6 separate regions of the Homo sapiens genome follow, and regions 2, 3, 4, 5 and 6 are each linked to region 1. Evidence: promoter capture Hi-C in 16 types of primary human blood cells and fetal thymus (Javierre and others, 2016). All regions are on one chromosome and are shown on one strand. Each heading gives the region's core, a stretch centred on a gene start or on the middle of the fragment in contact. The rest is flanking DNA. Distances are from core to core; before and after follow the strand shown.

The links. The method cuts DNA at HindIII sites, captures the fragments that hold promoters and counts their contacts. A CHiCAGO score of 5 or more calls a contact.
Region 2: a contact is called between a fragment that was not itself captured here and the fragment with the promoter of GJB2 in region 1, in 1 of 17 cell types (M1 macrophages). The highest score is 5.6, in M1 macrophages.
Region 3: a contact is called between a fragment that was not itself captured here and the fragment with the promoter of GJB2 in region 1, in 3 of 17 cell types (M0 macrophages, fetal thymus and naive CD8 T cells). The highest score is 7.5, in M0 macrophages.
Region 4: a contact is called between a fragment that was not itself captured here and the fragment with the promoter of GJB2 in region 1, in 1 of 17 cell types (M0 macrophages). The highest score is 5.2, in M0 macrophages.
Region 5: a fragment that was not itself captured here is called in contact with the fragment with the promoter of GJB2 in region 1 in 10 of 17 cell types (M0 macrophages, M2 macrophages, M1 macrophages and 7 more); the score reaches 14.2 in M0 macrophages.
Region 6: a contact is called between a fragment that was not itself captured here and the fragment with the promoter of GJB2 in region 1, in 5 of 17 cell types (M2 macrophages, M0 macrophages, M1 macrophages and 2 more). The highest score is 11.0, in M2 macrophages.

What each region holds. Positions count from the first base shown.
Region 1 is chr13:20,190,935-20,195,779 of GRCh38, forward strand. GJB2 (gap junction protein beta 2) reads right to left here and starts at 2,004. Exons shown (of 2, transcript NM_004004.6): 1 at 1,849-2,004. The HindIII fragment of the contact is 5,188 bases long and covers 1,462-4,845 here.
Region 2 is chr13:20,667,858-20,672,702 of GRCh38, forward strand. IFT88 (intraflagellar transport 88) reads left to right here. Exons shown (of 26, transcript NM_006531.5): 24 at 3,116-3,182. Among named protein-coding and RNA genes, the nearest start is that of IL17D, 33 kb to the right of the region's middle. The HindIII fragment of the contact is 6,033 bases long and covers 1-4,845 here.
Region 3 is chr13:20,564,891-20,569,735 of GRCh38, forward strand. IFT88 (intraflagellar transport 88) reads left to right here and starts at 2,267. Exons shown (of 26, transcript NM_006531.5): 1 at 2,267-2,366. LOC105370103 (a long non-coding RNA gene) reads right to left here and starts at 2,139. Exons shown (of 6, transcript XR_941725.3): 1 at 1,786-2,139; 2 at 611-660. RefSeq lists silencers at 1,967-2,376, 2,472-2,660. The HindIII fragment of the contact is 1,452 bases long and covers 1,779-3,230 here.
Region 4 is chr13:20,548,000-20,552,844 of GRCh38, forward strand. It overlaps LOC105370103 (a long non-coding RNA gene), which reads right to left. Exons shown (of 6, transcript XR_941725.3): 6 at 3,635-4,250. Among named protein-coding and RNA genes, the nearest start is that of IFT88, 17 kb to the right of the region's middle. The HindIII fragment of the contact is 9,139 bases long and covers 1-4,845 here.
Region 5 is chr13:20,473,006-20,477,850 of GRCh38, forward strand. The region is part of intron 3 of CRYL1 (crystallin lambda 1); the gene reads right to left. Among named protein-coding and RNA genes, the nearest start is that of MIR4499, 42 kb to the left of the region's middle. RefSeq lists enhancers at 3,101-3,300, 3,371-3,420. The HindIII fragment of the contact is 6,724 bases long and covers 1-4,845 here.
Region 6 is chr13:20,451,914-20,456,758 of GRCh38, forward strand. All of the region lies in intron 3 of CRYL1 (crystallin lambda 1), which reads right to left. Among named protein-coding and RNA genes, the nearest start is that of MIR4499, 20 kb to the left of the region's middle. The HindIII fragment of the contact is 7,348 bases long and covers 1-4,845 here.

The DNA of each region.
Region 1 (4,845 bases), core at 754-3,253:
AGGTCAGGCAGAAACCATCCAGTGCCACCTTGGTCAGAGGCTAACAGGAGAGAGGTGGCCACGAAAGTTACATCAGATTGACATAGGCCTGTGAAACATTTAGCTTCACTGAGCTTGGGAAAGACAACATCATTGGAAAAAACAATATTTTAGCCCAGGTTCAGCACTGACCCATTGATAATCCAGACTGGGAGGCCCTTAGGTGAGCTGGTTGTCCTGCTACAGCACCCACAGCTCAGGCCAGTCCCGTCCCAACAGCAGAACCACCGAGGACAGCAACATTCCGATTTTAACAAAAGCATCTTATGGAATTAGACATTCTTCATTGGCCCTCACTGAGTGGAAAACAGGATACTCCCCGAAGTAAACTCTCTCCTGGTTTACAACAATACACCTGGCCAAGAATATGGGGCTGCAGGAGGAGGGGTTTATCCTTTGCCCTCTTCCACCTGCCAAACCCAGGTCATACACCCTTCTACAGACCTGTCCAGTTACCATCAGCTGAGAAAAATACAGTTCCGAGAAACCCTATATTGTTATTTTATAAAGCTTGAGTTGAAGCTACCTGTTTTAAAGATCCTTTTTCAGGAAGAGGAGTAAATTAAGATTTACTCCCCAATGGGCTAGGGGGTCATGGGTTAAGAGGGGCTCAGAAGCAGGACGAAGTTGTTTTCAATATTCAAGTCAGAGGAGGAGCTGCCCTCCTGGCCTCCCGACCCTGGGCGGTTACATGCAGCTTCCTACCGGGCCCACGCCATCCTGCACCGCCTGGAGGGCTGCCAGAGGCCAGCGGAGGAGTTGGTTCAGTTCCTTAGGGAAGACACTAGGTGAATCACCAGGATCCAGAAAAGGCAAAAGGGACTCTTCACCCCTTAAATTTCTCCACCCTTAGGTGATGGGTGGTCGACCTTGCCTGGCTGTCCCCAGAGGGTTCCTCCACCCTTCTCACCAGTGTCTGAAATTGTGACCGACTGTGCACAGCAGTTTCGAAAGGGACTCTAAGGTCACATGGGGACACGGCCGTACCACGCTTCTCAAGGCAGTCCCAGGTGCATGGCCACGGAACCCAGCTCTCAGCAGCTGTTAGTTAGGTGAGCGCTGTTCGGGCTGCCTTCCTCCTCCAGTGGGGCAGGATCGAGGCACTGATGGAACCGTCCTGAGGACGCGGGTCTCAGCCGCACACCACCTCTTCGCGAACAAGGGTCCTAAAAATTTTCCTTCTAGGCGGGGAGCACAGCCCGGAAACAGACCCTCGTGAAGTGTTTAGGAAAAAGGGAAGCCACTGAAATCTTGGCCCCGGGGTAGGCCGGGATCGGCTGGCTCCGCGTTAGTTCTAGGCAAACTCCGCCCAAATCTCTGCCCGGGGATTTTTCTGCAGAAGCCGCTCCAAGAGGTAAAGGTCAGTTCCTGCAGCGAAGGCTTCCTGCTTCACCGGCGAAACGGAGCTTTGCTTCGAAGCTAAGCTTTCGGTGAATTTAAAACGTTTGGTGGCAGTGGGTCAAGTAGCCAGGCGGCTGCGCTAGAGTACCCCGAAGGGACATCGGCGACACCACAAACCTCGCGCTGGCGGCTCGCCCGCGCCTTTTTCCCCTCCCGCGCGCGCCCGGCCCCACTCGCACCCCGGGCGGTGCCATCGCGTCCACTTCCCCGGCCGCCCCATTCCAGCTCCGGAGCTCGGCCGCAGAAACGCCCGCTCCAGAAGGCGGCCCCCGCCCCCCGGCCCAAGGACGTGTGTTGGTCCAGCCCCCCGGTTCCCCGAGACCCACGCGGCCGGGCAACCGCTCTGGGTCTCGCGGTCCCTCCCCGCGCCAGGTTCCTGGCCGGGCAGTCCGGGGCCGGCGGGCTCACCTGCGTCGGGAGGAAGCGCGGCGGGGCCGGGGCGGGGGTCTCGGCGTTGGGGTCTCTGCGCTGGGGCTCCTGCGCTCCTAGGCGGGTCCTGGGCCGGGCGCCGCCGAGGGGCTCCGAGTCGGGGAGAGGAGCGCGCGGGCGCTGCGGGGCCGCAACACCTGTCTCCCGCCGTGGCGCCTTTTAACCGCACCCCACACCCCGCCTCTTCCCTCGGAGACTGGGAAAGTTACGGAGGGGGCGGCGCCGCGGGCGGAGCGCGCCCGGCCTCTGGGTCCTCAGAGCTTCCCGGGTCCGCGAACCCCCGACCGCCCCCGAAAGCCCCGAACCCCCCAAGTCCCCTTCGAGGTCCCGATCTCCTAGTTCCTTTGAGCCCCCATGAGTTCCCCAAGTGCCCCCAGCGCCCTGAGTCTCCCCCGGTTACCCCGAGCGCCGCCTCCCCCAGCCCCTTGGCGGCCCGGGTGAAGCGGGGGCGGCTGAGAGTCGGGACCCCCCAGGAAGCGGCGCCCCAGACCCCGGCTCCGGCGCTGTGCCGTGGGCGGGGTTCAGGGATGGCTGTGGTCGTTGTCCTCTGTACTCCGCATAGTGCGAGAGGACTTGGCATTTATGAGCGCTTCTTTAATTTTTTATTGTTAGAGAAACAGGCATTCCTCCAAGGACTGAAGATCTGTTCGAGTCGCGGAGGCTGCGCGGGCCCGCGAGGCTCTCGCAGGGGGACCTAGGCTGGGTGGCGGGGCAGTGCCCTCTGGAATGGGGGTTAACGGTGGCCGAGGAGGGGGCGCCGCTGGTGCCGGCGAAGTCCCCGCTTCTTTCTCCCCTCAAAATCTCACCAATCCGAACGAACGCCTTCTCGAATTTCCGATTTTATTCAATTACTTTCAACAATGTGCCAAGGACTAAGGTTGGGGGCGGTGGGAGAGACAAGCCTCGTTTTTGCCATGGCCGGCAGGGGGGTCCCGCCATCTGCGGAGGGTGCCCCCCGCGGCCCCCGGCCCAGCCAACTTCCTCCTCTTTTCGCAACTGGGGAACTGCAAGGAGGTGACTCCTTTCGGGGTGAGGAGGCCCAGACTTTTCAGAAAGGAAAGAGGGCAGGTAAAACCTGCCAAGCCCCTTCCTGCTCGATGCACACAGCACGAAAGGGGGAAACTGATAGGATTCTGCGGAAGACCGCTGGGGGGCTGGCTCTGCACTGCACACCTGCTGGGGGCTTTCTGGATACCGTGAAACTTTGTCTCAGATTATGAGGTCTCAGTATTTGCATTTGGTTGGGGATTTTGATGTCTTGCGATACAAATGACAGAAGACAGATTTGCACAGCGCAAGCGGATGAGGGACTAAGATGTGCAGAGCAGGCTGGGTGGGGACTCCCGGGGAGGTCTCCCCCAACCCCCGCCCCACCTCGGGCACCCACTTCGCGATTTTTGCAGAGGGGAGCCAGGTCAGAGGTGCAGCCTGGTCCCCTCGCGCTCACGTTTTTACCCAGGTCAGTTCGAAGTTAAGTGGAAATGATGATTAATCCTGACAAGTCAGATCTGGCCTCAGAATGGATTTCCCGTGATTGCCACCATTATTAGCATTGACTTTTCCTTGAAAAATTGGCGCCCCGTGGCCATGGGCCGACCTAGGCAGTTTCTGCAGGGACGAGCGTGAGTTTTGTACCGCGGTTACCACCTACTTTCCAGCTCCAGGTCTTAGTCTAAGAGGGAGTGTCTGCTCATGAAGAGGCAAAGCCCCAGGAGCTGCGAAAAGCCTTGCATGGCCCATCTGAGAGATGTGCTGAGTCGGCTTGTTAAAAATGACAGGCAAAGCCTGTGGGGTGGGGCAGCTTTCTTGGCCTGAGCGCATCTTGGTTGAGCCAGAGGTGACTTGGGGTGGGGAGTGGGGCGCCGGTTGGTGGGTTCTCCCTTTAATTTCTCAAAGGCTGTGGTGTTTATGAGTCTGTTGGAATCCTGGTTGGGTTGGAATGAAGGAAGGTTCTAGAACCATTGTGGGAAGCTCGCTAGTAAAGATGGTTTGGAGATCGGAAGTTGACTGACTTTCCCCCATTGAAAAATGTCACCTGAGATTTTAGTGCCTGTATCACGATTATAGGCTCAACTTTCTTTTCCTTGTTTTCTTTGATTTAGTTCTCCTTATGTGCAAAATTACTGTGTGATGTTGGCTAGTCGTATTATCACAGCCACTCCGTGTTTTCAGGATTTGTAGCTGGAAGTCCTATAGCACTTAAGTCTTCACTTACAGATCAGCGCTTGCTTTTATTCTGTTTTGTGTGATTTCTGCTGTTTTCCTGTGAGTTGGTGTTTTCTTCCCAAGTAGGCTCAGGACTCCTCTAGGGCAGGACATTATATGCATGTACATAGTGTCCTCCAGTGTAGGGGAGGAGAAGGAGGAGAGGTGAGGTGGGAAAAGGGTGAGGGAAGGCTTGGATATTTGAAGTTATTTACAAATGAGCTTAGACGTAAATCCAGTTAACAGATGACACCACAAATTAATGATTAAAGAAATCCTGAAATTATTTTGTAAATTACACACTTATATTGCTGCATTTTTTTTCTGTTGAAAGCATTACTTTTAACAGAAATGGAAACATTGGAAATAAACCATGTTTTTCTCACCTTTTATGTCTTCATCTCTTAATGTACCAGTCCCTAGAGAAGCTGAAGCCCAATCCTGTGTTCCTCCACCCCAGCCACCCAGCCCCATGGTGAGGACACAGGGAGCTTAGGATAGTACTGCTGCGTGCAGCATACACCTTTGTCTCATTGACGTGCAGAGACTGACCAGATAGAGAAGGTTTTTTGATGGAAAACTCACTGTGGTGTCTGCCTGGTTGATCTTGAATGATGGCAAGTGGGCACTTTTCAGGTAACTATTGATGATTAACTGACAAAGATCTGTGAAGGCTACACTTTGTCACTTCAGAGTGCCAGAGATACCCATCAGTAATATTTTTACATATATGCTTAGTACCATGCAGGTAAATCCCAGGTGATTGTCATC
Region 2 (4,845 bases), core at 1,704-4,203, 480 kb after region 1:
AGAACAGTGTGCTTTATCTATACTTGATCTTTATTTTCTCACTTCCCAGGTGCTCTTCAAATCAGTCTAACCTTGACTGCTTCCATTCACACAGCTAAAACTACCCTCACTAAGATTAGTCACTTACATAGCAGTCAATATGATGGACACTCTTAACTTTCCGTCTGCCTGACTTAGCAGCAGCTCTGTATATGTGGCGTTTGTGACACACCCCTCCTGGCTTCCTTCAGTTCCTTTGCACTGCACTGAGGCCACTTTACCTCCATCACACTCTTAAAGGGCAAGGTCAGCTGCTGGGCCAGCCCTGGAATACCCGGTGGGGCATCACAGAGTCTGTCCTGTTGCCTGGTGGGATTGCTGTCTGCAGCAGCTCTGTCTCTTGGGTGTTTACTTTGCATCTCCGAAGGAAGCACTTAGATCATGCCTGAAAACACTACTGAGCAGAGCTCTGTTGTGTGAATGGTATGAGAGATGTGCAGTTAACTGAGTCTTGACAGTTGAGATTTCTTTTTTTTTTTCTTACATAATAGGCACATTCTTAGAGAGTTCTTTGAACTTAGAACTTTATCAAACTAAGGTTTTGATAAATGTTTTGGTTTTACTTTTGAAGTTGCCTTCTCTGTAACTTCCACAAGAAATCCTTGCTACAGCTATTACAATGGTACAGCTATTACAATGGTTAGTACACAAGACTCCTTATGGTGGAGTTCACTGATTCTCAACTGCAAATAGGCATTCAGTTGGAAAAAAACACCACATTCTCTGTGCACAGGAGGATGATGAAGGAGAAAGACAAACCGGTAGAGTCGGACCCTGAGCATAATGAGAGCACATGGAGCCAGTCCCGACCAGGGGACACACAGGGGGTCTCCTGAGGAGATGAGGGAGGAGGAAATAGCTGAAAAGATGAGGGAGGGCAGGCAGACAGGGATTAGCGGACCCATCCATGCAGGGTCCATGCCAGCTGGCATATCCAAGGAGATGCTGTTTTCCTTTTATTCTCTAAGCAGGCAGGACAGTCAGTTCCAAAAGTGATGAGGACAAAAAGTGGTGTCTACGAGAAGTGAGATGGCCTGCATGGGGCACACGGGAGGATCTAAGTGAGCAGTGGGGAGCCCTGAGGCTTGCCTGGTTTTTGTACTGATGGAGCTGTTTCCCCAGCACAGTGTCCTGGGAGTAGGAGAGGAAAAAGGGAAGGCACTGAACCAACCGAGGCTTAGGTTTCTCTTGATGAGTGAAGCAGAAAGACAAGAAGGAGGCAAGGACCATAGTTCCAATGTGGCGTCATGGCACGTGGTAGGCCTTGATTCTAGGCTGGACAGAAAGTAGGAATTTAAAGAGTTTAAAAAGAGAAGAGTGATGAGAGCCAGAGGACTGGAAAATTCTAGATGAGTGCAGGGAACAGGTGTCAGGCAATAAAGAGTGTAGTGATTATGGAAGTGCTTACTTACCTTCGCATATCCTGTTCTGAACCTCTAGTCACTTAAACAGGATACAAGTTTTCACATGTGGTTTTAAAAACTGTCAAGCTATGTGGACATTTGTCTTGATGAATTTATTTTCAGCATTTTTTTTTTTTTTTGAGACGGAGTCCCTCTCTCTGTCGCCCAGGCTGGCATACAATGGTGTGATCTCGGCTCACTGCAACCCCCACCTCCCAGGTTCAAGCGATTCTTCTGCCTCAGCCTCCAGAGTAGCTGAGATTACAGGCGCCTGCCACCACACCCGGCTAATTTTTATATTTTTAGTAGAGACGGGGTTTTGCCATGTTGACCAGGCTGGTCTTGAACTCCTGACCTCAGGTAATCCACCCGCCTCGGCCTCCCAAAGTGCTAGGATTACAGGCGTGAGCCACCACACCGGGCCTATTTTCAGCATTTAGAGGTCTTTTTGGTATGCTGGAGATGATCCATCTGTGGTTGGATGAAAATCAAGTTTTGAAATAAAGTCAGATTATGGATGTTTAAATTCTTACTTTGCTACATCTTTTTAAGATTTTCTTTCATCTATGAAGGCAAGGAGAAAGTTGATATTTCAAGGGAAGTGCTTTTCCTTTTAATGGAAAAAAAATTGGATATGTTTATGAAACATTTGGAAGTCCTGAGTTTTAAGAGAGTATTTCATCTTACAGAAATGAGTTAATTATTGAAAAGAATTTCTTTCTTCCTAGCAAACCACAGACAATAACTTTATCCATGACCTGACAATTTATAAATATTTGGGAAGTTGTCAGGGTTAAGGAGTTAAATAATTTGTCTTTTGAATTAAATATGAAATTATGTTTATGTCTTATGTTTATATTATTAAAGATCTAAATAAAATATCCACCCATGTTAAGAAGTTTAATTCAATTATAAACATAAAAAGCCATCTGTCTCTGTTCACTAATCATCCTGTAGCTGTGTAAATGAACCATTATACATATGAAAATTTGATAGTGTGACTTGAGGCAGATTCAATGTTAATACAAAAATTCTAATACTTAGGCAAAACAGAACCATAAAATGTAGAAAGAAACCTAACAATGCCACAGTGTGGAGATACTTCTTAGGCTTTGAAGGCGAGTCTGTATCTAAGAAAGTAGACTGTTGGACAGATCTTAGGTCTTTTGTGAGGTTTTAATCATACTTTTATTTTATAAATTGAATTTCAAAACTCAGCTTACCTTTTTTTTTTTTTTTTTTTTTTTACCCTCAAATAGTTCAGGTCCAACCATTGTATATGAGGACTAATGGCAAGAAATGGCCCTTTTGTAGATTCTTATCCCCTCCTCACCCATCCCTCCCTTAAACTAAAGATCATGTTTAAGCCCTGAATGTTCACATCAAGAAAATACTGTTTAGTTTTGAGTTGTTTGTGTAAGCCAAGGTTACGCTGCACTTTTGAATTAAAGTGCTATACGAGTTTTCTCAAGAGCCTTAGAGGGGAAGGCTTGAACCCTCCACTTACAAAACAACTCAGGCTTTTTTTTTTTTTCTATAGAATCAACTCTCAGGTATGATGGGTTAGTCCTAAGGGTAATGTAGTAATGTTAATTTTAAAATCCACCTTTATCTATATTCAACTTTGAAGGAATAGCACTTATTCTTTTAAACTTGTCTTCTCTTTGCTCTAGCGCATAAAGTCAGGCAGAGATGGCAGTGGGGGCTCCCGTGGCAAAAGAGAAGGAAGTGCTAGCGGTGGTAAGTATTTTCTCTTTCCCTGAAAAACTTGGTTTCCACATTTCTAGTATGTGGGCTTCTGGAAACATCTTGCAATAATCTAAAGTGTTCTTATGTGTCTGTCGGTTTGTTCTATACACAGTGAAACTTCACATTAATTAATTTGGTAAGCAGTCAGTCTGATATGTAAATGAGTATTTGTAAATGCTAACAGATTTTCTTAAATAACCATGCTTGTTTTTGCTAGTTGATTAATAAACAAGTTTTTCATTTATTAATCTCTCAGGTTGGACAGATTATCATAGATGGGCGTACTTATGAGGTTTTGCTGTGTTACATTTTTAAAATTTCCATTTGAAGGAAGTGCCACGAGAAGGAGGATGGTCCTATGGAATGCTGACAGCCCTAAATCTTTAGTCTGACTTTTAGTGTAGAATTAGTGACAAGCTAGGAATTAGGAGACATAGTGTGAGTCCCAGTCTTGATCGTGACGATGTATATATGTCTTTGGACCAACCACATAAATGCTATAGGCTTTTGGTGATTTCTGAAGTTCTTTGCATCTCTAAAATTCTTTTACTCCTTGTGACATCATTACATAATAAGACATTTTATTGAGTTTTCCACCCCTTCTTCCCATCAACAATCTACCTTCTTTCTCTACTTCAGGCAGGCAGTGTAAGTTAAACTTAGTACAAATTTGGTGATTTTAAAGAAGCTAATTTTAAAAATAAATGTCGAATTGGGGTCTATAAATATACCTACATTCTCTCCTATCCATACTCAGCACTCTCATGCATATATGACCTAGCTCCATGTAACTATCCAGCTGCATTCTGTCATATCTGTTTGTGATGTAGGAGTCAGGACAAAGACAAATGTAGCTCTTAGTTAGGCAGGCCTTTCATCCATTCACAGTGTTTATTGGATGCATACTGTGTGCCAAACACTGTGCTAAGAGCCAAGGACATGGGAACAAATAAGACGTGGTCCCCATGCTCAAAGAAGTTAGAATCTAGTTGGAAAGACACACAGCTTCTAATGGTGCTGTGGATGCTGCCATGGTAGAGAAATGTACATGAGTTTTCAAACTTTCCTAGGGATAGAAACTGCAGTTGGGACAAAGACTCCTTGAATTCAGAGCTGTGCTTTGAAATTCAAGGAGTCTTCGTCCCAATTGCAGTCAAATTCAATTTATAACTTAGTAGGCAGTTACAGCCATCAGTGGCATCGGGTTCTAGCCAGGCCACTTGATTCCCCAAGAGTCAGTCCAGCGTCTCCAGCTAAACCTCATGGTGCTGGCCTGTTTATCTTCAGGAGCCATTACCCAGAGCTGGAGAAATCAGTAAAAGCAGCATTGAGCCCAAGCCTCAAGAGTACCAAAGGCAGTCTGTCACATCAAAGAGTAGCCACTTCCATCTCTTCAGCCACCATGGTCCTGATGGCTACTCCTGTCTCCTTGCTCTTCCCTAGCCCCAGATATCTCACACACTCCACTTTAATGGATCCGTGTGACTATCTGGGGTTGGATTTAGTCAGAGAGATCTGGCCCAGCAGTTCTTAAGCCAGAGGCAGCCATAAGCCCACAGCTCCTTACCCAAAACCCCTGGGGCCAGGTGTGTTGTGGAATTCAGAACCTTTTGGAGTTTAGAAAGCAAGATGTATTAGCCATGTATCACATACT
Region 3 (4,845 bases), core at 1,255-3,754, 370 kb after region 1:
CTTTTAAACTTAACTTCTGGCCAGATGCGGTGGCTCACACCTGTAATCCCAGGAGGCCGAGGCGGGAAGATCATGAAGTCAGGAGATGGAGGCCATCCTAACACGGTGAAATCCATCTCTACTAAAAATACAAAAAATAAGCCGGGTGTGGTGGCGGGCACCTGTAGTCCCAGCTACTCGGGAGGCTTAGGCAGGAGAATGGAGCAAACCCAGGAGGCAGAGCTTGCAGTGAGCCGAGATGCCGCCACTGCACTCCAGTCTAGGCTATAGAGCGAGACTCTGTCTCAATTAAAAAAAACAAAACAAAACAAAAAAAGCTTAACTTCCTCGTAAAGCAATCTTTTTCAACTACCTGCTCCACCCTGACTCATTCTGATTACCTGCTCTGCCCTGACTCATTCTCCACCCTGACTCATTCCGATTTCCTGCTCTGCCATAACTATTTTTCCCACCAAACCACTTACCCGGTCACTCTCTTTAAATTAGTCAATCAGAATTAGTTTAGCCTGTGCCGTCTAACCTTAGCCAACAGGGGAAGGACACAGCAGCAGGTGCCACAAGCGTCAGGAATAAAAACCCCTTCGCCTCCCTTGTCCAGGTGTGTGCTCACCATTGCTCCATCTGTGAGGGCGCACCCTTCTATAGAAGTAAATTGCCTTGCTGAGAAGGAAAAAAGAAAATTTTATAGTTGAGTGCTATTTCTTTTGCGGCACCAAAACTTTATTTATAATGCTGGCAAGCCTAAAATTTGTAGGTCAAGTTAGAGACCCAGGAAAGAGCTGAAGGCAGTCTGGGGGCAGGATTCCTTCTTCCTCAGAGGACCTTAGTCTTTTCTCTTATGACCTTCCCTTGACGGGATGAGGCCAACCCACCTTGTGGAGGACCAACTGCTTTACTCAAGTCTAATTTAACTGTTAATCACATCTTAAAAAATACCAGCTATCATAGTACTCCAGAACAAAGGCAGTCAGTGTCTCTGCTCACAAAACACGGGAAAGTGCAGGTGACCCATGGAGAATTGTCCCCCAACACTATGTTTTTTCTTTTTTTGGATGGAGTTTCGCTCTTGTCACCCAGGCTGGAGTGCAATACCACCATCTTGGCTCACTGCAACCTCTACCTCCTGGGTTCAAGAGATTCTCCTGCCTTAGCCTCCTGAGTAGCTGGGATTTATTACAGGCGCCTGCCACCTCGCCGGGCTAATTTTTGTATTTTTAGTAGAGACAGGGTTTCACCACGTTGGCCAGGCTGGTCTCCAACTCCTCACCTCAGGTGATCCGCCAGCCTCAGCCTCCCAAAGTGCTGGGATTATAGGCATGAGCCACTGCGCCCGGCCAACACTACTTATTTTATAAAAACTCATTAATTACTGGTGTCTTTAGACTCCCTCTGTCCCTCCCCTCCATCCCCAACATTTACTTTTAAAATTTAAGACAAAACTTAAACATTAAACAATTATGAATTTAATTCCCCCATTTATATTACATTGATTAAGCTTTACACTATGACCCAGGTTCTAGGTGGTTGGGACACAATGGTTCAATCCCTGTCTAGTAAATAAAACGGACACCTTAAGCGCTACAATCAAGGTGCGCACGGGGTGCTACAGAACAATACGCAGACAGGAGGAGGTGGGGGGAAAGGTGAGACTTCCCAGGCAGGTGTCATCCCAGAATAACTTTTACACAGGGTGACTAAGCGAGTTAGTGACTGCGCGGAAAACGGGCTTCCAAGGTTCACAAGGCTCGTGCTGCGGCTCCGGGAGTTATGTCACAGTAAGCTTACTATCATCCTTTGGGCATCTGCTTTACGGATGAGTTCATCAGGATTTAAAGGATCTTGGTTCCATATCCTTCCCCTTCCTCACAGAGGCCGCCAGCCCGGAGCCCCTCTAGGCCCTCCTCCCTCCTGCATCTACTGGCCGCGAGCCTTTCCCTCCCCGCCCCCTTCACACAGGCCGCCCCCAGCCTCCCAACCCCCCGGTTCCGTTCCACGGGAGGCCCCGGCCTCCCTGCCCTCTCCTCCACCGTTCTACCCGCATCGCCCGGCTTCCCGCAAGCCGCTGGCACCGTCCCCTCAACACCCTCCGCCCACCGCCACTCCCTTCCACTGAGGGGGACCGGGCTGCCTTCTCTCTGACCCGCCGTTCTCCGCCCCCACCCACTTCCCCAGGCCTCCCGCACCACCCCCTTCCCGCCGCGCTCTCTCCCGCCCCCGCGCTTCCGGCCCCGCCCGCCCCCGCGCGGAGGACTGTGGGAGCGGCTTCCTTGGATTCCGCGCTTGGCAACGGCTCGGCGTCGCGCTTTGGCCAACCGCTGCGTCGTCCCTGGGCCCGAATAACTGTCGCCCGCTTCCCTCAGCGTGAGGTAGGAGAAGGGCGCTGGGGCCTAGTGCCTCAGGGCCCCTGGCAGCCGTGCCCCTGCGGCGTCCTGTGTGGCGCATCCCGCCGAGGGCCTCTTCGCCCGTCTCCTGCCCGCCCCTGTCGGCCCCGGGGCGGTCTGAGGCGGGGCCCCAGATGGACTCGGCCTGCCCCTGCTTTTCTTCCTCAGGCTCCCGAGTTGTCTACTCAGAAACGCGGGCGTTGTTTCTCACATCGGTGTCCCCAGCTCACAGGCTTTTCTTGCTCCTCTGAACTGGGACGGGCGTCGCTGACCGCTTGGCGATGTCCCAAGTCCCAGTCACGCCTGACGGGGAAACTTAAAACCCAGTTAGATTACTGCGCCAGCTCTGGAATCGCACAGCAGAGATGGTGCACATCGCTCTTTAATTTTCTTGTTAGGTGAAGCACTTCAAATTGCCTGATGAAAGTTGAATCAGGAATGAAGATAAAAGTACACAACAATGCAGAAAGCGGTACTTAGCCTCACAAAGATGGAAACATTCCAAAAACGTGAAGTACTGTTGTCCCAAGATTCTTTCTAAGCCTAAAATTACACTTTTACTAGTCCGATTTTCTGGTTGTGAGTTTTTTTTGTTTGTTTTTTTTTTTTCGAGAAACTGCAGTAGGCTTCTTGGAAGTAGACCAAGGGTGTCCAATCTTTGGCTTCCCTGGGCCACATCGGAAGAAGAATTGTCTTGGGCCACACATGAAATTCACAAACACTAAGGTAGCCGATGAGCTTTAAAAAAAATCGCAAAAAAGAATCTCATAATGCTTCCAGAAAGTTTACGAATTTGTGTTGGGCCACATTCAAAGCCGTCCTGTGCCACGTGCGGGCCGGGGTTGGAAAAGCTTGAAGTAGACTGTCCATAGTCAGTAGAAGAGTATTAAAAAACATACCTTTCACTTAAAAAAAAAAAAGGTTTTGCCAGCATTTGATTTATATTAAACATAGGTGGCATCATCCCCAGATTATTTCAACATGGAAAAGTTTGTTACATGTATAAGCTGCTTTGGAAATTGCCTGGAGAATCCAGAAACCCTGGGTTGTATAACAACAGTTGTTCTGCCACCCATAGCTATTAGCCATGCTTGATTCCCTTCAACTTTCCTGGCCTCACTTTCCACATCTTTTAATATTTGTATGTTCCACAAGATGTCTATTCAACTAAAGTCTCAAGTCAAACCTTTTAAAAATCTGGTTACAACCTAGCAGAAAGGATTTCTCATTCTAAAAGTTGCTTCCTTCTATAACTTATGTGTCAACTAAGCTGACTTAAATAGGGTTCATAATCAGAAATTATGGTTCAGAATAGTGGTTCTCAAAGTGGTCCCCAGACCAGTAGCCTCAGCATCACTTGGGTTTAAGAACCACTGGTTTAGTATTATCTGAGCTAAAGCTTTTAATTAAAAATATTTTATATATCTTTTACCAGTGACTTTTAATACCTTTTTTTTTCTTTTTGAGACGGAGTCGCACGCTCTGTTGCCCAGGCTGGAGTGCAGTGGCGGCAATCTCGGTTTACTGCAAGCTCCGCCTCCCGGGTTCATGCCATTCTCCTGCCTCAGCCTCCCGAGTAGCTGGGACTACAGGCGCCCGCCACCATGCCCAGCTAATTTTTTGTATTTTTAGTAGAGACGGGGTTTCACCGTGTTAGCCAGGATGGTCTCGATCTCCTGACCTCGTGATCCGCCCGCCTCGGCCTCCCAGAGTGTTGGGATTACAAGCGTGAGCCACGACGCCTGGCCCTTTTAATAACCTTTTGAAGCTATTTTGGAATGCCATTTCTATGTGGGTGACATTTGCCCTCATAGTAGTTAATTTTCATCTTCAAAAAGTAATGAGAAATTAACTCAAAATGGATCAATGACCTAAATATAAGAGCTAAAACTGTTAGAAAAAAAGCATAGGTATAAATATTCTTGACCTTAGATTAGGCAGTTCTTTCTTAGATATGATACCAAAAGTACGTGCAACCAAAGGAAAAATAAATTGTATATCATCAAAATTTAAAACTTTTGGCCAGGCGTGGTGGCTCACGCCTGTAATCCCAGCACTTTGGGAGGCCGAGCCGGGCGGATCACGAGGTCAGGAGATCGAGACCATCCTGGCTAACACGGTGAAACCCCGTCTCTACTAAAAATACAAAAAATTAGCCGGGCGTGGTGGCGGGCGCCTGTAGTCCCAGCTGCTGGAGAGGCTGAGGCAGGAGAATGGCGTGAACTCGGGAGGCGGAGCTTTCAGTGAGCCGAGATCGCGCCACTGCACTCCAGCCTGGGTGACAGAGCGAGACTCCGTCCCAAAAAAAAAAAAAATTTTTTTAAACTTTTGTGCTTCAGAGGATAGTACAAAGAATGTAAAATGATGTACAGAATGGGAGAAAGTATTTGTAAATCATTTATATAATGTTTAGTATCAGGAATATATACAGGATCCTTATAATTCATGTGATAACCTGATTTTT
Region 4 (4,845 bases), core at 1,002-3,501, 360 kb after region 1:
TGTCTTGAATTATATATTTATCCTAAACTTGAACAGTGTTTTACAAAAGATGAATTTGAAAACTCAGGCATAGTCTCCAGGAACATGCAAAGGCATTGCAGGGTCATAGCAAACTAGTTCATAAAACCAGTGCACACGTCGCTGCTTATGTCTGTTCCTATCCCCTGTCTAAACACACTGGTCATAGGTCCTTCTCCTCCTGTCCACTTCTGACATCCTTTAAAATATCACAAGTAATAGCTTACATTAATACTGCACTTTACAAATGCTTTCTGATCATCCATCCCTTGCCTATATTTATTTTGCTTAGAAAGGAAGGTCGGGCAAGGTGGCTCACGCCTGTAATCCCAGCACTTTGGGAGGCTGAGGCAGGATTGCTTGAGCCCAGGAGTTCGAGATCAGCCTGGGCAGTATGTCAAGATCCTATATCTATGAAAAAAAAATTTTTTTTTTAATTATCCAAACATGGTGCTATGTGCCTGTGGTCACAGCTACTAGGGAGGCTGAGGTAGGAGGATTGCTTGAGCCCAGCAGGTCAAGATGGCAGTGAGGTTTGATTGTGCCACTTCACTCTAGCCTGAGCAACAGAGTGAAACCTTATTCCCACCCCTGCAAAAAAAAGAAAGAAAAAAGAAAGGGAGGGAGGGAGGGAGGAAGGGAGAGAGAAAAGAAGAGAGGGGGAAAGGAAGATGACAATTTCTGAAATGAACAAAACATAAGAGAAACGTTACTTTGGTAAAACTGCTCCACAAGAAAAGGGTGTTGCATTTTTCAGCTGTAGTTGCCCAAGCCAGAAAGCTCATAGTCCTGAACAAGGAACAAAATAATTTAAACATGTCACAAAGTGAATCAGGAATTTATTTTTTCTCTAAAACCCTTTCCTCCTTAACATCACAGTACTTTTGATACATTACTTTTCGGGGGATCCAAAGATGGAAGACAGTGTGTATGTGTGTGGGAGACTTTTGGGGTGACAGAAAGATGTTCCTAAAACTGAAGAATTCCTCCCCATATATATTAATCACATTTGTACCTGTGGTTCCATGAGGCCTAGGGAAGCATGTATTACACTATCTTATTTATACTACACATATTAGACTGAATGTTTATGTCTCCCCAAATTCATACATTGGAATCCCTACCCCCACCGTGATGTTATCAGAAAGCAAGGCCTCTGGGTTGTGTTAGGTCATGGGGCAGAGCCCTCATGCCCAGGATTAGTGCCCTTATGAGAGTGGCCCGAGAAACCCCTCATCCCTTTCAGTATGTGAGGAGACCATGAGAAGATGGCTGTCTATGAACCTGGAAGTGGGCCCTGTCCAGACACTGAAACTGCCAATGCCTTGATCTTGGACCCCTCAGCCTCCAGAACTGTGAGAAATAAATGTCTGTTATTATAAGCCACCCAGTCTATAGCATTTTTGTTTTTTAGAGAGGGGTCTTGCTATGTTACTCAAGCTGGACTGAAACTCCTGGACTCAAGTGTCCTCCTACCTCAGCTTCCCAAGTATCTAGGACAACAGATGCATACATACCACCATGCTCCGCTCAGTCTACAGCATTCTGTTATAGCGGCCAGAATGAACGAAGACACTATATTGCACATGTAATATAATATATGAACAAAGAACAAGTATTTTGGAAGCCAGAATTTCAATACTTATTATTTTAAGACAGGGTCTTACTCTGTCACCCAGGCTGGAGTGCAGTGGCACGATCTTGGCTCATTGCAGCCTCTACCTCTCGGGTTCAAGCGATTCTCCAGCCTCATCCCTGGAGAAGCTGGGACCACAGGCATGCACCACCACACCGCACACCCTGCCCCCCGCCACCAATTTTTGTATTTTTAGTAGAGGCAGGGTTTTGCCATGTTGCCCAGGCTGGTCTCAAACTCAGCTCAAAGAAATCAGCCCACCTTGGCCTCCCAAAGTGCTGGGATTACAGGCGTGAGCCACTGTGCCTGGCTCAATATATATTATTGATCATTCTTTTTTTTTCTTTACTTATTAAACTGCATTGGTTCACTTTCACTAATAGTCTGGATTTGATTTTATACAGCCCTAGAGCCAATGGTAGTCCATTTCATACCTTTGTGTAAATCAGAGAAAGGTACTTCTTCATCAAGACATTGTACTCTCCTCTACAGAAAATTGTCATAATGTATTGTTTTTTGGTTTTTTTTTTTGAGACAGAGTCTTGCTCTGTCACCAGGCTGGAGTGCAGTGGTACGATCTCAACTCACTGCAACCTCTGCCTCCTGGGTTCAAGCGATTCTCCTGCCTCAGCCTCCCAAGTAGCTAGGACTACAGGCGTGCGTCACCACACCCGGCTAATTTTTCTATTTTTAGTAGAGATGGGGTTTCACCATGTTGGTTGGCCAGGATGGTCTCGATCTCTTGACCTCGTGATCTGCCCACCTCAGCCTCCCAAAGTGCTGGGATTACAGGTGTGAGCCACCTGGCCTGGCCCCTTGATTTTTTTTAAGAACAAGATACTTTGTGTGGGAGACTGCCACAGTTACTACTTGAGACCATCGCTACAACAGTTACTACTGTTACTACTTGAGACAGTTACTACTGTTACTACTTGAGACAGTTACTACTGTTACTACTTGAGACAGTTACTACTGTTACTACTTGAGACCGTCTTTATGAGACTGAAAGAAGGGATGAACGTGGAAATGAAAACTTAAGACAAAAGTAACTGTTTTAAAGGAAGGGTCCAGGGGAAGAAGAAGAGAGCTCCCTGCTTCTAGTGAGCAAAGGCAGCCTCGAGCTTCTTCAGCCCTTCATATTTATTGGGTATAAAGAGCAGGGAGGAGGAGGTAGATTGGTCAGCTGCTTAATTGATCACAGGTTCACATTATTGCTAACAGGATTCAGTTGTGCCTAATCACAAGAAACACTCGTGCCTGGGTTGTGACTGCCCTCAGCATTCCTACTGGGCGGCAGGCACAGTTTGTCAGTTTACCAACATCCTGCTTTCACGAGAACAGTTTGCTGTTTGCTCATATAGCCGCCAGTGGTGCACTGAGTTGACCACGACCCTCATTCTTTCAGCCTCCAACAACTTTACTGCCATCTTCTGGAAAATTGTTTTTATTTTTGTTATAAGTACCAAATCTGTGATGTATATAATGTGAGCAACACCTCCTTAAATGTGTCCTTGTGCAGTGCACAACCCACAACCTATACAACCATATGTCACAGAGGCTATGATGTGTATGATATTGTCTAGGGAAACTGATGTGCTTGAGTATAACTATGTCCAGAGAGATAGTAGGTTCTTGTCAGAAAATTAGGGTTTCATAACCACTTATAATTACTGTAGCTTTTTCCCAAATTACTTCCAACTTCACTTACAGAAAATGTCACTTATGGATTTTATCTTTGTCTAGATTCAGGATTCTAGGGGTGGTAGGAGGATGAGTAAGAGGAAGGGAGATGGAGATCCTGAATTTGAGAAATCTACAAAAATTAGAAGCTGAGAAGCTAAATCAACAAGCATGTAGACTTGCTGAAGGAAACAGGCCAATTAAGATCTTCACCCTGGATGACCCCTTGACTTTCTTCACTGGGGTTTCAGAGAAAGTATTTAGATGCCCGTTTCAAAGTCATTACTGGATAAAGACACATTTGCAATGAAAAAGAAAGATTTTATTTGCCTTTTCTTCTCACAGTTCAATAATTTTGCATATAAGACTTGGTTTTAAAAATACAAAATGATGATTCTCAAAGTAAATGAACCACCTCAAAAAGACAAAAACCTACCATCTTCCGAAAGAACTCTCACTTTCCTCGGCATTAAACACACTCAAACCAGTGGAATCAATGGGAAACTAACAATGTTTTTGCAGAGTGACATCCCATTAGTCACAAGGGGAATTTTGAAAAGCACACGTAAGCATAACATTAATTCATTTCCCAGCATTCTGTATTGTAGTAGCCTAGAGATTTAAAAGAAATTACCTCACTTGTCTTTAAAAACTACACTCTACCTTTGAACAATTAGCAGATTGGGCACCAACTGCTCCTGCCCCGTGCAGTTGAACACTTGCCTATAAGTGACCCGCACGCAGTTCAAACTCATGTTGTTCAGAGGTCAGCTGTATGATCAGGTCACTAATGAGTCTTCAGACCATGTTTTGGGGCTTACAAACAAAGATAGTTCATTCAAAAAATTTTTTAAATGGTGTAGTCAGGTGATCTTAATAGTCTCTCCATCCTTGCAGCACTGTCCAACAGAACTGTCTGCAATAAAGGAAATGTTCTATGTCACATTCTCCAACACAGTAGCCACTATTCCTGTGTGGCAGTTGAGCACCTGGATGTGGCTAGTGTGACTGAAGAAATGAATTATTATTATTATTATTATTATTATTATTATTATTATTATTATTTAGACAGAGTCTCACTCTGTTGCCCAGGCTGGAGTGCAGTGGTGTGATCTTGGCTCACTGCAGCCTACGCCTCCTGGGTTAAAGCGATTCTCCTGCCTCAGCCTCCTGAGTAGCTGGGATTACAGGCATCCACCACCACGCCTGGCTAATTTTTATATTTTTGATAGAGATGAGGTTTCACTCTGTTGGCCAGGCTGATCTCAAACTCCTGACCTCAGGTGATCCACCTGCCTTGGCCTCCCAAAGTGCTGGGATTACAGGTGTGAGCCACCATTCTCGGCCTGAAGTTTTAATTTGATTTAATTTTGAAAAGCACACATAAGTATAACATTAATCAGAATTATTTTTAATTTAATTTACATTAATTTTTTTATAGAGACAGATCTCACTATGTTGTTCAGGCTGGTCTCCAACTCCCGGCCTCAAGTGATCCTCCTGCCTCAGCT
Region 5 (4,845 bases), core at 1,659-4,158, 280 kb after region 1:
GGTCCAAGATCCAGTCTCTTTGGTGGAACGGGGGTGGAGTGGCCAGTGGAGCAAACTCGAGTGCCCGTACTGCTCAGAGAGACAGTGAGTGAGTTAAAGAAGGTGAGGTAAAATTAGTCTGCAATCTAATTCTTGTTTTCCCACTTTTGATTGAAATAGGAATTTAAGAAATATTTCGCTTTCCTCTCCACTTACAGCGTAAACAGTAATGTACAGCCACGAACAGGAGCCGGCAGGAGTGGCGGGGAGACCCGCAGTCCCACTGTGCGGCACCCACATGCTGCTCACTGTGGCCGGAGCGTCGGACTTTAAGGAGCTGTGAGACAGCTATATTTTATGTGGAAATTTCCAGACTTTTAAACATCAGTGAGTCATTCAAACAAACAAATGAACAATTATTTTTAAAGCTGCACATGGCCAGACTCGGCCCCTGGTACCAGCCTGAGACCTCTGAACTGGCCTTCAGCTAGAAGAGCCAGAGGCAGCCTTGTGATCTCAGCGGACCTGGCCAGAGTGGGTGGGCGGGCGCCAAGGATGGCGCTCCAAAGTAGAGGGCACACTTGGATGCCAAGGTGTCTGTCTGGGGCTTCACGGAGCCCACCGTCCTGGCCATCACAGATAACATGGTGTGCTTCACGAAAGTACAAACAACGTAGAAGGAGCCCGTTGGTGAAAGTGGGGCTAGGTACTTGCAACACAGGTGTAAAAGCTGACGTTACATCCCACCCAGAGCAAAACAAAACAGGAAAAGCAAAAACAGTTCACTTAAGACTCAAGATAACTCATTTTCCATTTCTCTTTTCATCATGATTTATACAATAAAACAATGGCTCTCACGGATTCTAACGTCTCAGGAAAGTACCAAAAACACAGCAAGTGAATCGGGTATAAGTAACAGGGTAATTTAGTTAACATAGCAAGTGAATCGGGTATAAGTAACAGGGTAATTTCATTGAGGGTCACCCACATGGCTATTAATGACAGGCATCGGCTTCCATTTCTTCTTCTCTGAAGAAGGGGATTCCCTACCTCTGGGCTGGGAAGGGGACAGACACTGAATAAAAACATCTGGGCACAATGAGAAAGGCATGGGCACGTCCTGAATTCCACAGAGAGCAGCAGCTAGAGCTCAACTATGGCTCCTGGAAACTGTTCCACTTAAAAGCATACAAGAGTCAGAATCTTAAGATGCTGACAATATATTTTTCATAATTTCCTCCACTTTCAGCCATCATAGTGGCCTTTAAAGGGCTCACTAGGTATCTCGGAGGAAACCTCCGGTCCGGGACCAGCGCCGGCAGCAGGCAGCTCTCACGCCCACCTGCCCTGTCCCGTCCCCAGCCGTTGCTGCATAGGGATGGGATGTAGGCTTCCTCTAATATCTGAGCTGGGAGGAGAGAGCCATATTCCACAAGCAACAAACCGGTAAAGCAACACACACTTGAAAAATTTTGTGTCGCCCTCAGAAGGCTTACCAAGAGCCAGTCAGCCCCTATTTGACAAGATGCATAATTACTGCATGGAGTTCCTGTTCATGTAAGTGATTGTAATTAGTAATATTTTTCCACAGCCAAACCAAGTATTTCAAGGGACAGCTTGAGGAAAAGATGAGAGGATACCTTGGGAAGAAATAAAATGCTCCTGGCCCCTCAGAGGCAGCGGCGACTCCCAAGCTGCTCACACTCAGAGTGCTCCTGGCTCAGCTGTGTCCAGGGGGACACACACAACCTTCCTCTCCCCTCCCAGGGCCCTCAGCCAATGACCAGCCCAGAAAGGTTTGCTGGAGAAACCGTCACCTGCCTGGACTTGCCCCAGCCTCCTTTACTTTCAGTAAAGGGAAGGAGACCATTTGGCCTTAACAATCTTGACCTCCTCAACTCTGGATCTTGTGATTCAGCTCCCAAAGTCTCAGGGACAAGGCTCCCCTGCCTCAGGGTCAAGCAAGCTCCGAACTCTTGGTCCATCCACTCTAGCTTCTAACAGCCCAGCATCTGGACCCGTGCGCAGCCTCCTTCACCCTCCAACACCCGGAACACAGGGCAGCAAAGTCCTCTCGCGATGTCCATTGCCCAGAGTGGCGAGTCAGAAGTCAGCCTCACAGACAGGATGGCCATCACCAGGCTACAGGGACAGGGAAGGAGCAGACAACTGGACAGGGAGGAGGGAGCCATCCGCCACCTCAGGAGCACCGGGAAGAGGGCCTCCCCGCATTCCCAGACCCCATCACACCCCGTGTCTCTCCCTCCCTGGCAGGGGTGGCAGGCATGCAGGTTCCAGCTGGAGTCCAAGCGACCTGGCCCAAAGGCTGATTCCACCTTTGGGCTCTGGGGTGAGATCTTTATCCTGTCATTTCTAAACAGATAATCCATTCAGTCATCAACAAATGTTTATTAAGTTCCTGCCTCATGCCAGGCACTGTTTTAGGTACTGGAAAAACAGCAGTAGATAAAGCAATCAAAAATATTCCTGAGGTGTGCAGGCAAAAATGATTGGGGGTGGAGAGTGGGTATGGCATGGAATAAATACTAGCACCCACTTTACGGGGGTGTCGTGAGGACTGAAGTGGGTCATTTTGTGTTAAGAGTGTGGCACAGGACCTGGTCCATGGTAAGGGATGGATGCACAGTAGTTCCCATTAGCTGCGGGTCATAGGCCAAGACTAAAGAAGAGCCATATCAGCCTCAGGAGGCCTTGGGAACAGAGGGGAATCACCTGATGCTGTGCAACTGGCTCTGGCCAGGCTCAGAGAAACCAGGGACCCTTTCAGCGGAAGATTCCCACCCACCACCTACCAACTAGGATGGCAAGATAGCAAGTGCCTTCAAACGCGAGCAAAGCAAGAAGCAAAAGGCCGCAGGACGAGTCCCGGTGACATATCCACAAATCACAGGCAGAGAGCCTGTTAAAGGAAGGCTGTGTAAGTGTACTCAGTCAGTGGAAAGTGGACTTGCTCCAGGAAGGCCACAGCCTCATCCTGGCCTGTGTCACCTGCCCCACGCACACGGCAGTTCCGGGGCAGGTCCTGCGCACGCGGCAGGAAGGAAGGAAACCACAGTAGGTCTCTCAGAGGAAACCACAGTAGCAGCCTCCTCTGCCAAAACAACAGAAATAGCTACTCCAGTGTCCCAGGTGTCTTCCCACACACAAATGTGCAATGCGATACTTGCTGAACGCCAGGGCCTCTGAAAGGCAGGAAGGTAATTAGCTGGGAGTGGTGGCATGTGCCTATAATCCCAGCTACCAGGAGGCTGAGGCAAGAGAATCACTGGAACCCGGGAGGCAGAGGCTGCAGTGAGCCAAGATCGCGCCACTGCACTACAGCCTGGGTGACAGAGCAAAACTCCATCTCAAAAAAAAAAAAAAAAAGGAAAAACGAAAGGCAGGAAGGTCTCTGCTGGGCAGCAGGGACTGATACAGGTCAACCAGACCCATAAGAGGTGAAAGGCCGCCCCTTGAAAGAAACCTTTTGATTTCCCCCAGTGGTTCAAACAGACTTACTGGGCAACAAGTCTTTGAATATTGACTTTCAAATGAAAATAAACACAGCAAGGCAGCTCTGCGTCAGCAGATATGCTCCCAGCGTGCTGATACCGCTAGGTGAGCAGCAGGGAGCCCAAGCCGGAAGAAAAACATGCAGCAGGGCCAGCACCGAGTTCTGCAGGTGTCCCTTACTTTTCATTAACATGAAGCTCCCAGATTCCCGCTTATGCCTCATACCTCTTAAAAACGCAGGCTCAGCAGGGCGAGGTAGCTTATGCCTGCAATTCCAGCACTTTGGGAGGCCAAGCTGGAGGATTGTTTAGGCCCAGGAGTTCAAGACCAGCTTGGACAACACAGTGAGACCTCGACTCTACTAAAAAATTACCTGGGTGTAGGCCGGGTGCGGTGGCTCACGCCTGTAATCCCAGCACTTTGGGAGGCCGAGGCGAGTGGATCACGAGGTCAGGAGATCGAGACCATCCTGGCTAACATGGTGAAAGCCCGTCTCTACGAAAAATACAAAAAATTAGCCGGGCGTGGTGGCGGGCGCCTGTAGTCCCAGCTACTCGGGAGGCTGAGGCAGGAGAATGGCATGAACCCGGGAGGCAGAGCTTGCAGTGAGCCAAGATCGTGCCACCGCGCTCCAGCCTGGGCGACAGAGCGGGACTCCGTCTCAAAAACAGCAACAAATAATTACCTGGGTGTGGTGACACATGCCTGTAGTCCTAGCTACTCGGGAGACTGAGGTGGGAGGATCGCTTGAGCCCAGGAGTTCAAGACGTCAGTGAGCTATGATCACACAGCTACATTCCAACCTGGGCAGCAGAGCAAGACCTTGACTCTAAAAATCTTAAGTAATTAATTTATATATATATATAATATTTGTATAAACTAGGCACTGTTTTAGGTGTTGGAGAAATAGCAGTAGGTAAAACAATCAAAAATATTCCTGAGGTGTGCAGGCAACAATGATTGGGGTTGGAGAGCGGGCATGGCATGGAATAAATACTAGCACCCACTTTACATGGGCGTCCTGAGGACTGAAGTGGGTCATTTTGCATAAAATGGGCGGCACAGGACCTGGCCCATAGTAAGAGATTGACACACAGTAGGTATATATACAGGCAGGCTCCATGGTGTATTTAATATTACATATTATCATTTAATAATGTTTAAAATTAAATATATAAAAATATTTTTAAAAATATATTAAAAATATATATAATAAATTTTAAAAAATTATTTTTATATTATATATTATTTTGTATACTAGATAATATATAATTGTATAATAGATAATATATAATATTCCATTATGTATTCTATTATATATTATACTAAAATATAATATACTATAGTATATAG
Region 6 (4,845 bases), core at 792-3,291, 260 kb after region 1:
TGTGGTACATATAGCCCATGGAGGACTACGCAGCTGTTGAAAAAAAAGAAGAAAATCACATCATTTACAGAAACATGGCTGCAGCTGGAGGCCACTATCCCAAGAGAATTAACACAGGAACAGAAAACCAAATACCACATGTCCTCACTTATAAGTGGGAGCTAAACACTGGGTACTCATGGACATAAAGATGGCAACCACAGATACCAGGGACTACTAGAAGAGGAAGGGAGAGGGAGAGAGTTGAAAAACTATTAGCTACTATGCTTACTACCTGGGTGACAGGATTAAACAAAAAGTAAAAAAGAGGCAGACCATCAGACCGAATTAAAAAAAAAAAAAAGCAAAACCCAACCCAACTCTAAACTATCTAGAAAAAAAAATCTACTTTAAATGTATGGACTTAGATAGGTCAAAAGTAAAAGAATGGAAAAATATTCCTTGCAAACACTAACTAAAGAAACCTGCTGTTGCTATATTAATATCTCAAAAAGTAGACCTAAGAAACAAGAAATGTTATCAGAGAAAAAGAAGGGCATTACAATACACTAAACGGGTCAATTTTCCAAGAAGATACAACAACTCTATGTGTTTATGCACCTAACAACAGAGCTACAAAATACATGAAGTTGTTGGGGTTGCAGAAGATCAAGAAGCAGAGTACAGAGGATTTTTAGGGCTGTGACAATACTGTGTATGATACTATATTGATGGATACATGTCAATATACATTTGTCAAAACCTATAGGATGCATAATACCAAAAGTGAACTCTAATATAAACTATGGACTTTGGGTGATTAATATGTGTCAATGTAGGTTCATCAACTGTAATAAATGTGCCATTCTGGTGGGAGTTGCTGATAATGGGGGAGGCTATACATGCGTAGGGGCAGAGGCTTTATGGGAAATCTCTGTCCCTTCTTCTTAATTTTCCTGTGGAACTAAAGCTGCTCTAAAAAAGTGTTATATTGGATTTAACATATTTTGGGTATTAAATACAATTTCTAAAATGTTTAAATTTAGATGAATTTTAAAATTAGTTTTTTCTAATTTCATAATGTAAAAACAGAATTGAAAGGAGAAATAAACAAATCCACGATTACTGCTGGAGACCTCAATAACTTTCTTTCTCAGAACAAGATTTAAAAATCAATAAGATTATAGCAGAGCTGAATAACATTATCAACCAACTTGATCTACTTGACATTCAGAGACCTCTCCACCCAAGAGTAGAATGCCTGACTTTTCCAAGTTCACATGTAATATTTACCAAGATAGATTATAGTCTGGCCATGAAACAAAACTTAAAAGAATAGAAATCAAACAAAGTATGTTCTCTGGCCATAATTGAATTGAAGTGGAAGTCTATGAGAAAAGAATATCTAGGAAATCCCCAAATATGTGGAAATTAACCAAGACACTTCCAAATAATCTACAGTCAAGGTGAAATTCTCATGGGAAATTAGAATATTTTGAAATATTTTGAATATTTTGAAATATTCTAATATATTTGAATATTTTGAAATATTCTAATATATTTGAATATTTTGAAAATGAAAACACAATATATTAAATCATTGGATTCAACTAAAGCAATGCTGAGAGGAAAATGTATAGCATTATATATTTACATTAATAAAGAAGAATATCTCAAATCGTTAATCCAACCCTCTATCTTCAGAAACTGAAAAAAAGCAAATTAAATACAAAGAAAGGAAGAAGAAAACAATAAAAGTAAAAGCAGAAATCAATGAAATTGAAAACAGAAAAACAACAGAAACAAATCAATGAAATCAAATCTGGTTTCTTAGGGAAAAAACAGTAACACTGACAAACTTCAAGGCAGACTGACCAATAAAAAGAGAGAAGACACAAATTGCCAATATGAAGAACGAAAGAGGGGACATCACTGCCAGTCCTATAGTCATTAAAAGAATAATAAAGCAATATTATGAATAATTATTTATGCCAAGAAATCCTACAACTTAGAACAAATGGACTGATTACTTGAAAGACACAAACTGCCAAAACTCACTTAAGAAATAATAGAAAACCTCATTAGTCTATTTATAGGAAAGTAATTAAATTTGTAGTTCAAAATCTATCAACACAGAAAACTCCAGGCCCAGGGTTTGCCACATTCAGCCAAACATTTAAAGAACTACTGCCAATCTTTACAATCTCTTTCAGAAAATAAAGAAGAAACATTTCCCAACTCATTCTATGAAGGCAGAATCACCGTAATATCAAAATATTAGACAAAGACATTACATGGGGAAAAAAAATCTATTCCAAACACATATGCAAAAAAAATCTCAACAAAAAAGGATAGTGCGTTATGACCAACTGGAGTTTATCCCAGGAATGCAAGACTGGTTCAACTTTTTAAAATCAATCAATGTCATTCATGATATAAACAGATTTAAAAAGAACAATTATGTGATCATCCCAATAGATGTAAAAAAAAAAATCAGTTCACAAAATTCAACCCCCATTCGTGTTTGTTTTTTTTTTTTTTTGAGATGGAGTCTTGCTCTTGTCGCCCAGGCTGGAGTGCAGTGGTGCGATCTCGGCTCACTGCAAGCTCCGCCTCTGAAGTTCACGCCATTCTTCTGCCTCAGCCTCCTGAGTAGCTGGGACTACACGCGCCTGCCACCACACCCGGCTAATTTTTTTCGTATTTTTAGTAGAGACGGGGTTTCACCGTGTTCGCCAGGATGGCCTCCATCTCCTGACCTCATGATCCACCCGCCTCGGCCTCCCAAAGTGCTGGGATTACAGGCGTGAGCCACCGCACCCGACCCATTCATGATATTTTTTAAAACTCTCAGCAATCTAGGAATAGATGGGAATCCCTTTAACATGATGAAAGGTAGCTATTATTCCTATGCTAACATCACACTTAATGGTGAAAAATTCAAGGCTTTCCTCCTTAACATTGGGAATAAGGCAAGCTGTCTCACTCTGTCGCCCAGGCTGGACAGATTCTATTCCGGAATAGAATTTTATTCCACATCATATTGATGTCCTAGCCAGTGCAATAAGGCAAGAGAAAGATATAAAAAGCATATAGATTGAAAATGAAACTGTCTCTATTCACATAAGACATAAATGCCTACATAGAAAATCCCAAAGAATCTATGAAGAAGTCCAAGGACTAGTGAGCTCAGCAAGATTGCAGGATACAGGTCAATATAAAAAAACTGTATTTCTACACAGTAGCAATTAATAATGGAAAATCAAAAAAAATGTTAAATACCATTCACAATAGCACACATACACAAGAATTACTTAGGCATAAATCTAAAAAAATGCCTTAAATATGCAGGAAACCATGAAATGCTGATGAAATAAGTCAAAGGAGGCCTACATAAAGTGGAGAGCTACACCATAATCATGAATTGGAAAACTCAAGCTACATCATAATCATGAATTGGAAAACTCAAGCTACACCATAATCATGAATTGGAAAACTCAAGTTATACCATAATCATGAATTGGAAAACTCAAGCTACATCATAATCATGAATTGGAAAACTCAAGCTATACCATAATCATGAATTGGAAAACTCAAGCTACACCATAATCATGAATTAGAAAACTCAAGCTACATCATAATCATGAATTGGAAAACTCAAGCTATACCATAATCATGAATTGGAAAACTCAAGCTATACCATAATCATGAATTGGAAAACTCAAGCTATACCATAATCATGAATTGGAAGACTCAATACTGTTAACACATCAGTTCTCCTGAACTTGATGTACTGATTCACTGAAACCCCAATAGAAATCCCAGAAGTTTATTTTGTAGATATCAACAAACTGATTCTAAGATATGGAAGGCAAAGGAGTCAGAATAGCCAAAACCATTTTGCAAAAGTAGTTGGATGACATAGTATCTAATTTCAAGGCTTAATATAAAGCTATAGTAATTAAGAGAAAGTAATATGGGCACATACTGTTACACTGACACATGGATCAATATTATATAAAGAGAGCCCAGCGATAGATCCATACAAATCTAAGCAGCTGATTTCTTAGAAAGATACAAAGATAAGTCAATGGGGAAAAGATAGGGTTCAACAAATGGTGCTGGACAACTGGGTTTTCACATGCAAAGAAATGTAACTTAGTATATACCTTATATTTTCCATGAAATTAATTCAGGTGGATCATAGCCATACATGTACAATTTTAAACTATAAATGTTCTAAAATAGAAAATCTGTGAGGCCTTGGGTTAGGCAAAAAATTTTAAGAAATAATACAATGACCGGATGCAGTGGCTCACACCTGTAATCCCAGAACTTTGAGAGGCCGAGGCGGGCGTATCACCTGAAGTCAGGAGTTTGAGACAAGCCTGGGCAACATGACAAAACCCTGTCTCTACTAGAAATACAAAAATTAGCTGGGGTTGTGGCACAAGCCTGTAATCCCAGCTACTCAAGAGGCTGAGGCACCAGAATCTCACTTGAACCTGGGAGGTGGAGGCTGCAGTGAGCCAAGATTCCACCACTGCACTCCATCCTGGGTGACAGAGTGAGACTCCGTCTCAAAACAAAAAAAAAAAAAAAAAGAAAAGAAAAGAAGAGAGGCGAGGCAGGAGGATTGCTTGAGCCCAGGAGTTCCAGGCTGCAGTGAGCTATGATCTGTACTCAGGCCTGGGCAAGACCACGATTCTTAAAACACACACACACACACACACACACACACACACAAAGACCACGATTCTTAAAACACACACACACACACACACACCCCAGAATGCCCTTCTTAGCAACCCCAGCTCTTCCTTCTCTTCCTAGCCAGCTATGCTCCTGTTACACGACCTGCCCACC